Regions from separate parts of the Homo sapiens genome. Here all the other regions are linked to region 2. Evidence: promoter capture Hi-C in 16 types of primary human blood cells and fetal thymus (Javierre and others, 2016). All regions are on one chromosome and are shown on one strand. Each heading gives the region's core, a stretch centred on a gene start or on the middle of the fragment in contact. The rest is flanking DNA. Distances are from core to core; before and after follow the strand shown.

The links. The method cuts DNA at HindIII sites, captures the fragments that hold promoters and counts their contacts. A CHiCAGO score of 5 or more calls a contact.
Region 1: the fragment with the promoter of DMWD here is called in contact with the fragment with the promoter of PPP5C in region 2 in 2 of 17 cell types (M1 macrophages and erythroblasts); the score reaches 10.1 in M1 macrophages.
Region 3: the fragment with the promoter of MEIOSIN here is called in contact with the fragment with the promoter of PPP5C in region 2 in 2 of 17 cell types (non-activated CD4 T cells and M1 macrophages); the score reaches 6.5 in non-activated CD4 T cells.

The regions. Positions count from the first base shown.
Region 1 is chr19:45,791,469-45,794,168 of GRCh38, forward strand. It overlaps DMWD (DM1 locus, WD repeat containing), which reads right to left and starts at 1,377. Exons shown (of 5, transcript NM_004943.2): 1 at 848-1,377. The coding sequence starts at 1,288. RefSeq lists a silencer at 1,026-1,505. The HindIII fragment of the contact is 5,053 bases long and covers 1-2,634 here.
Region 2 is chr19:46,345,746-46,348,445 of GRCh38, forward strand. It overlaps PPP5C (protein phosphatase 5 catalytic subunit), which reads left to right and starts at 1,342. Exons shown (of 13, transcript NM_006247.4): 1 at 1,342-1,472. The coding sequence starts at 1,352. RefSeq lists enhancers at 1,180-1,359, 1,460-1,589. The HindIII fragment of the contact is 16,758 bases long and covers 1-2,700 here.
Region 3 is chr19:45,732,164-45,734,863 of GRCh38, forward strand. MEIOSIN (meiosis initiator) reads left to right here and starts at 1,276. Exons shown (of 15, transcript NM_001310124.2): 1 at 1,276-1,503. It also overlaps a transcript of FBXO46 not described here. The HindIII fragment of the contact is 2,985 bases long and covers 1-1,819 here.

The DNA.
Region 1 (2,700 bases), core at 127-2,626, 550 kb before region 2:
TCCAAGACCCCCAAACCTTGAGGTCACCCAAATTTCCAGGACTCTAAAGCCTAACATCCTAGCATTCTCTTCACTTTGTAGTCCCTAAACCGCCACAGTTCTGGGACCCGTCAAACCTCACGGTCTCCCACATTTTAGGCCCATTTATTACCTAGGGGCTCCGAAGGATCCCCATCATTTCTGGGATCACCATAAACGGCCAGGGTTCTCACCACATCGCTTTAGAGATGTCCTGAATCACACCTGCAGATTCCCCTGCCAGGGCCTCTCATTCCCTTGAGAGCTCCCATCAGCTTCCGGACGCTCATCTCCTCCAGGACCCTCATGACTTCCAGACCCCAATTTTCTCTAGAATCCCATTCAGCTTCTGGATCCCCTATCACCTTCAAGGCCCCCATCACTTCTAGACTTCTCCTCATTCCTGGGCTCAATCTCAAGACCCCTCTCCCACACCTCCAGGCTGCAATACTGGGTTCTCCATCACCTCTGGGCTTGCATCACCTCATGATTCCCCATTACCTGCAGAATGCCTGCCACCCCAGAACCCGGGGGATCCCACCTCATCTCAGATACCCCATCATGTCCAATAGTCACCATCCCAGAACTCCTACGCATAACGGGGGTAAAGGGGATTTCCCCCATCACCTCCAAGATGCCTGCCCAGCACCCCGCGGGCCTCTCATCACATTTCAGAATCCTGTACTCCCTCCAATGCTGTCGCCCTACAACGTCCATCACATTTAGAATGCCTATCTCAGGGCCCCATATCAATTCGGGGACCCTCCTATCAGTTCTCTGGAACCTCCATCCTTTCAGCACCCAGGGCCCCACGATGCAGGCCGCTCACCCGTTGGCTCCCACGACGACAGCAGCCTGGGTAGAAATAGAGCTCACGGCCCAAGTTGAAGCAGACGCGGTCTCCCCCCGAGCCCAGCCCCGCGGGCGTGGCGGGCGGCTCCCCGGCCCCGGCGCTGTCCGGCTCCCCGAGGCGCACGAGGCTGAGGCGCACGGCGGGCAGGGCGGGCCCGGGTCCGGGGCCTGCGGGCGGCGGGGACGACGCGGGGCCTGCAGCGCCGGGACCGGAGGCGGAGGCAGGGCCGGGCGGGGGCTGCGGTGGCTGAGGCGGCACCGGAGTCTGGGCGGAAGCCGGACCCGACCTGCGAGCGGCGCCGTCGCCCGGGAGTAGCTTGTAGAAACCCTCGCGCGTGCGGAATTGCGACTTAATCTCCGCGCAGTCCCCCATGGCGGCGCCGGGGCCCGAGCCGCCCTCCGCGCCGCCCGCCGCCATCTTGGGCGCCCCCCGGGCCCCGCCACTGCCGGACTGCCGCCCGCAGCCGGGCCCCCTCCCGGAAGCCGCTGGCCCGCGCCGGAAAAGGTGGGGTCGTCGCCCGGGCAACGCCTCTTCGATTGGCACCCAGATCCGGAGGCGGGACGAATCCCCGCGGTCGCTCGGGTAACGGTGCTGGGACTGTGGGCGGGGCGAGAAGGTGGGCGCGGCCTTTGAGCCTGTGACCGACTTGTGGTTGGCTGCGGGGGCGGAGCCCGCAATGGAAAGAGGCGTGGCCAGTTAGAAAGCTCAAGTCCTTAGCAACCGCGCCCTGGGAACGTTTGCCTAGCAACGGAGGGATTTTTTTTTTTTTTTCCCCCACGACAAAGAAGCCCTCATCCATAGTCCAGCCTTCCCATGAAGTCACAGCCAACCCCAAGTGACCCTGGTCTCTCCTTAGACGCCCAATATACACTCCCCTGACCTCCAGTGTTTCCCACTGACATATTCAAATCCCTGAATGACCACAGCATCTGCTACCATTCTTCCCCACCCTTGGTGACCCACCAAATCCCTGTGTCCCCACACAACTCAGAGGACTTCCTCTGACCCACTATTGATTAATGCTAACTCCAAACATCCTTCATATTTTCCACCAACCTCCAATGTATATTTCCATGATTTTCTTATTTTCAACAACCTCACTTGTCCTCCAAAACCTACCTCTGATTCCCAAATTGTATTGATCCCCACGGTGCCCCAGTGTCCCAGTGATCCACTCGTAACCCAAAGTCTCCCCCTGATCCCAACAGCTCCTACTCATAGCCAGTGCTCCCCATGTCTGCTGAAGCCACCCAGCCCCATCATAGATCTTTCTAGTCTCATGTAGTCAATGGCCTCTACGATTTCTCCCTAGAGTGTCCCAAGGGCATCTCACACTTAAAAAAAAAAATCCTACAATGGTTCGGGCATGGTGGCTCATGCCTGGAATCCGAGAATCCCAGCACTTTGGGAGGCTGAGGTGGGAGGATCGTTTGAGCCCAGGAGATCAAGACTGCTATGAATTCACATCACTGCACTAAAGCCTGGGGGACAGAGTCAGACTCAGTCTCTCTAAAAAAAAAAAAAAAAGAAAGAAAAAAGAATCCTACAATGAAATTGACGTCTTACACCAAATCCTCCACCTCTCTTGCATCCCCACCTTAGGGCTAGCTCTGCCGTCCACTCAGTCAACCAGGCCACAGACCTGGGTGTCTTCCTAGATGTGTACCATTTATCTTCACTCTGCCCCCGCTTACAGCCTCCAAGTCTTTTGCATTCGACCACGTGGAATTCCTCTTTCTCAGTTCCTTGTTCTCCCTGATCCAAGCTTCTCCTCTACCCAAGCCCTTCCCCCACCCCCACATCAACCGTGTCTCTTGGTCTCCCAGATT
Region 2 (2,700 bases), core at 92-2,591:
TAGATAGGTTTAGGAGTGTGCTTCCAGGAGGGGATCCAGAGCCTTACAGGACTTAGTGCTACATGAGGGCTTAGAAAGGACAGACTGGAAGCGTGTACGGCGGGTGGGGATTGGCAAAGGGGTGGAATCTGGATATTAGACTATTCAGCCTGAGGTTAAGACTATTCAGGGTCTCCTAATCAGGAGTTTGGGTTTTCTCCTAAGGGTGCTGGGGCCATGGAAGCCTGGGAGCGAGAGTGTGCCATGGTTTTATCATGTCTTAGAAAGATCCCTCGGCCGGGCACGGTGGCTCACGCCTGTAATCCCAGCACTTTGGGAGGCCGAGGCGGGCGGATAGCTTGAGGTCGGCAGTTCGAGGCCAGCCTGGCCAACGTGGTGAAACCCGTTTCTACTAAAATACAAAAATTAGCCGGGCATGGTGGCGGGCGCCTGTAATCCCAGCTACTTGGGAGGCTGAGGCAGAAGAATCGCTTAAACCGGGAGGCGGAGGTTGCAGTGAGCCTAGATGGCGCCACTGCACTCCAGCCTGGGCGACAGAGGGAGACTCCCTCTCAAAAAAAAAAAAAAAAAAAAAAAAATGTGAAGGGTAAACTGGAGGGAGGCAGAGTGCATGCAATCAATGCTGTGATCTCAGACAAGAGAATCTGTAAAAACACAAACAGGAGAGTTTATTTGAAGATTCAGGATTTGGGAAGCTGAACACAGGAAGAAAGGAGATGGTGCAACACACTTCTAAGCCTTGCTCAGGACTTGAAATCCAGAGTGCCTTCAGTTAAAAACTCAAACACTGACCCTCAAGGTTGGACCCTTTTTGGCTTGAGAAACCACTAATTTTTCAGAGATGGGTAACTGAGACCCTAGAGAGGAAGGGAAGATTTGTTCAAGGTCACACAGGTAGTCGACAATAGGGCTCGACGCCCGGGTCCGGCTCCGCGTAGGGCATGGCGCTGCCTTGCAAAACAGCCACACCCGCCAGCGACATTCACAACCCACCCCCCAACCCTAGAGGACAGCGGGGAAATCCCACTTTCAGAACCGAGAAACTTTTTACAGCCTTGGAACACGGTAACTTTGGGAGGAGAGGCCACACCAGGTCTGTTTCCCCGCGCGCCCCTTCTCTCATTCCCTATTGGCTCTCTCTACCAGGGGTACCGTCTGGGGAACCTCTGGTCACCTTGTCCTCCGCGCGCTCTGTGGCGAAAGGGACCTGCGCAGGCGCGTGAAGGGCGCCTTCAGGGCCCGCGCTTTACGACACTTGTGCGGCAGCGGCGGCGGCCACCCGGCGCTCCTTCGCGACGGTTCGGCCGGGTGCCGCTGGCGGCCGTTGCCAGGGTAGGGGTCGCTTTGCGGCATGGCGATGGCGGAGGGCGAGAGGACTGAGTGTGCTGAGCCCCCCCGGGACGAACCCCCGGCTGATGGAGCTCTGAAGCGGGCAGAGGAGCTCAAGACTCAGGCCAATGACTACTTCAAAGGTGCGCCCGCCTGGCAGGGAGGGTGGACAGTGGCCCAGGCTGAGGGGTGCCGGGCCCGCGCGGAACCATAGCAACGCGGAGCTGCAGCCTGGGCGCGGGGCAGACACTACCAAGTGACCGGGCGTGGGGAGGCCCAGGATGGCGCTGCCAAGGAGCGACATAGGGGGCTTCGGAGAGTGATACCTAGGAGTGGCGTGCGGAGCGGGTGCTACTCAGTGGAGAGACTGAGGAGGGCGCCACCAATTGTGGGGCGAGAGGGGGACTGGAATGAGGGCGCTACCAAACGTGAGGCCTGTAGAGGGCGCTACCAGGCAGTGACATGTGGTGGGGGAGTGATTGATGGCGCTACCAAATGGGGAGTCCTGGGGTGGGTGCCGCCAAGTGGGGGGTAGAGGGGGCACAGCCCCAATAGAGAAGGCAATCGTGGGGGTGGGGAATGGATCATTAGATGGGGGGAACAAGGAAGTAGGAGATTTGGGCTGACCCGAGGAAAAGGAATGTGATGGTGGGGGCCTTGGGAGTAAGGGTGGGGATCCTTAAGAATAGTATCACTTAGAATATTGAGAGTCAAGTGTGGGGCACCCATTCATTCATTAATTCAACAAATATTTATTGAGTACCTGTTATGTGCCAAGGACTGTGCTTGACTTTGGGGATATAGCAGTGAATGAGACAGATGTGGCCCTGTCCTTAGCTTGTAATTTTGCAGGTGAACCAGACATGAAAAAAAAAAAAACAAAAAAAAACCATGTAAATAAGTAAAATACTTAAATTGTGATGAGTGCTTTGAAAGCAAACCAGCAGTGTGATGAAGTAGAGAATAAGGGTTGGAGGCTACTTTAGATAGGGTAGTGGGGGAAGGCCTTACTGAGCAGGAGGCGTTTAAGCTGAAACTCACAGAGGGAGAACTGGAGAGGAGTGTTCCAGGGAGGTAAAGCAGCCTGTGCAAAGGCCCTGGGATGGGGAATGAAAGGGTACTGGCATGGCTGGGGCTTTGGCTACTTAGGGGGAGACCAATAACAAGATGAGATTAGGACAGAGGCCAGATCATGCAGGGTCTCCGTGAGTCATTACAAAGACCAGTTTGGAATTTTTTTTTTTTTTTTTTTTTTGAGACGGGAGTTTTGCTCTTTTTGCCCAGGCTAGAGTGCAATGGCGCAATCTCGGCTCACTGCAACCTCCGCCTCCCTGGTTCAAGCGATTCTCCTGCCTCAGCCTCCCGAGTAGC
Region 3 (2,700 bases), core at 26-2,525, 610 kb before region 2:
AGATCTTTGTGTACCTTGTTCAAGCACCTAGAACAGCGTAAACATGTGTTCAGTAAATATTTATTGCATCGGAACTATATGCCAGACACCCTACAGACAACCCTGGTAGGAATTACAATCCCAAATTTATAAGGCAGAAAGAGATTAAGCCTCTTGTCGCTGGCAACACAGCCAAGAAAACGATTTGAACTGAAATGTATTGGATTTCAGGGTTTCTACTCTTGACTAGGTCGTTAGATCATCTCCCCTTAAGACGTATTTTCCAGGCTGGGTGCGGTGGCTCATGCTTATAATCTCAGCCGGGAGACTGGCTTTAGTCCAGGAGTTTAAGACCAAACTAGGCAGCAAAGTGAGACCCTCGTCTCTACCAAAAAAAAAAAAAAAAAAAGCCCAAATCTTTTATTCTTTTTCTTTCTTTTTTTTCCTTTTTTTTTTTTTTTTTTTTTTTGAGACAGAGTCTTGCTCTGTCGCCCAGGCTGGAGTGCAGTGGCGATACCAGCTCATTCAACCTCCACCTCCCAGGTTCAAATGATTCTCCTGCCTCAGCCTCTGGAGTAGTTGGGACTACAGGCGCGCCCCACCATGCCCGGCTAATTTTTGTATTTTTAGCCGAGACGGGGTTTCACCATTGTTGGCCAGGCTGGTCTGGAACTCCTGACCTCAAGTGATCCGCCCGCCTCGTCCTCCCAAGAAGGCCCAATTCAAATGGCCCTCCTCTTTGAATCCTTTCCCAACGTATTGTTCTCTGCATTAACCGAGTTCCCGTCTCACCGGATTCTCATGGTCTCGGAGGTTCTCACGGTCTTCTCGATTGTACTGGGAAGACAGTGGCTAAGTTCCCACCATCTAGCCTGGTGCTTGGCACACAGGAGGCCCTCATGAATCACGAACTGAAGGGAAAAGGTGGAAATGGGACATCATAGGGCCAGAAGGGACACAGGCGAGCTCGCTCTCTCTCTCTTCCTGAGAGTTGGCAGTTGAGGAAACCCAGCCTACTTGGGATGCAACGGCCCTGGACCACGCGGGTCGTGCAGGGGCGTGACCGCTTAAAAAGGCGGGTGGCTGAGCGGGCGCTGATTGGTCACCTAGCGGCTCACGCCGACCAAGGCCTTGTCAGAAGGCTCGAGGCCGAGCTCACGCTGTGCAAGACGACAGGGCCCTTCCCGAGGCGCGCGTGCGCACGGCCACTTGCACCCTGCCCTTTCAACCCCGTCGTCTCGTGCCCAGCACATCTTGGCTGGAACTGGTAGGGGCGTGGCCTGGCCTCAGGAACGCACTCTTGCTCTGCTCCTCACGCCTCGCGCAGGATCCTCGCGCCGGGAGGATTCGCACCCAACCCCAAGCCCGGTTGGGAACGTGGTGTCCGAGACCGTCTGGGATCCCCGCGCGCACGGCCGGCTTCCCGGGACCCGCGCGAGACGCTGTCTGATCGGGCTCCCTAGAGTGGGGCCCGGAGAAACCAGAACGGCGGGGGCAGCCTCACGCCATTTTGCACGCCCTGAGGCGGGTGCTGGAGGCCAAGGGGAATGGGGCGCGGGGCAGGGGGCCTCCCCCAGCACTAGCTGGGCTTAGGGGAACCCGGGATCCCCACAGGAGCTTCCCTCGGTGGGGGGCTCAGGGGAATAGAACATGCTCTGGGTGCAGGGCCACGGGCGACGGAGTTTGGGTTTGAAGCCGGGGGTCCAGGTTCGAGTTTGAGGAACGGAAGACTCTGTTTGTGTTGGGAATCCGGGCTCTCGAGTTCTGATCTGGGATCTCGGGATTTGTGTCTAGGGGTGACTAGTTCTGGAATCTGAAGAGCTTGAGTTTTGTGACTGGAAGCTTTCTCCTTGGAATCCAGAGATCCCAATTTGGGGATCTGGAAGTCTTAGTTCTGAGTTATGATGTAACATTTTGAGAGTCTGGAGCCTGATTTGGGGCAACTGAAGCCTCAGTATAGATTTAGGGCCTAAATCCCAATGTAGAGTATGAAGCTTTAGGATCTGGAGTCGCAGTTTGAGTCTTTAGAAGCACGTTTTAGGGCCTGGAGTGCCCACATTGAGTATGGGAGCTCCAGTTTTAGGGTCTGGGGTTTCAGAGTAGGACCCACATTCGAGATCTCAGTTTTAGGGTTGGGGCCACAATTTGAGGGACAGTTTGGACGTCTAAGAGGTCAATCTGGAGAAGTGAGATTTGTTTCATAGGGGCCTGGATTTCTTATCTTAGGATATAGGTTCATAGTGTTACAGCTTGCAGTCTGTAATCTTAGTATTAGGATCATATTTGAAGATCAGAAGTTGACAGTTTGAGGGTCTGGGGTATCTCAGTATTAGAATTTAGGGTTTGTAGGTTTGGGAGGGCTCCTTTTTTTTTGTTTTTGAGACAAGGTCTCACTTTGTCATCCAGGCTGGAGTGCAGTAGTGCGATTTTAGCTCACTGCAGCCTTGACCTCCTGGGCTCAAACCATCCCCCCACCTCAGGCTCCCAAGTAGCTGGGACTACAAGCATGTGCCACTATGCCCAGGTAATTTTTTTTTTTTTTTTGTAGAGGTGGAGTTTTGTCATATTGCCAGGCTGGTCTCAAACTCCTGAGATCAAGCAATCCTCCTGCCTTGGCCTCCCAAAGTGCTAGGATTACAGGCGTGAGCCACTGTACCTGGCTTTGGGAGGGCTCCAAAGTGAGGATTTAGGTCCTCATTTTGGGACTCTAAAGTATTAGTT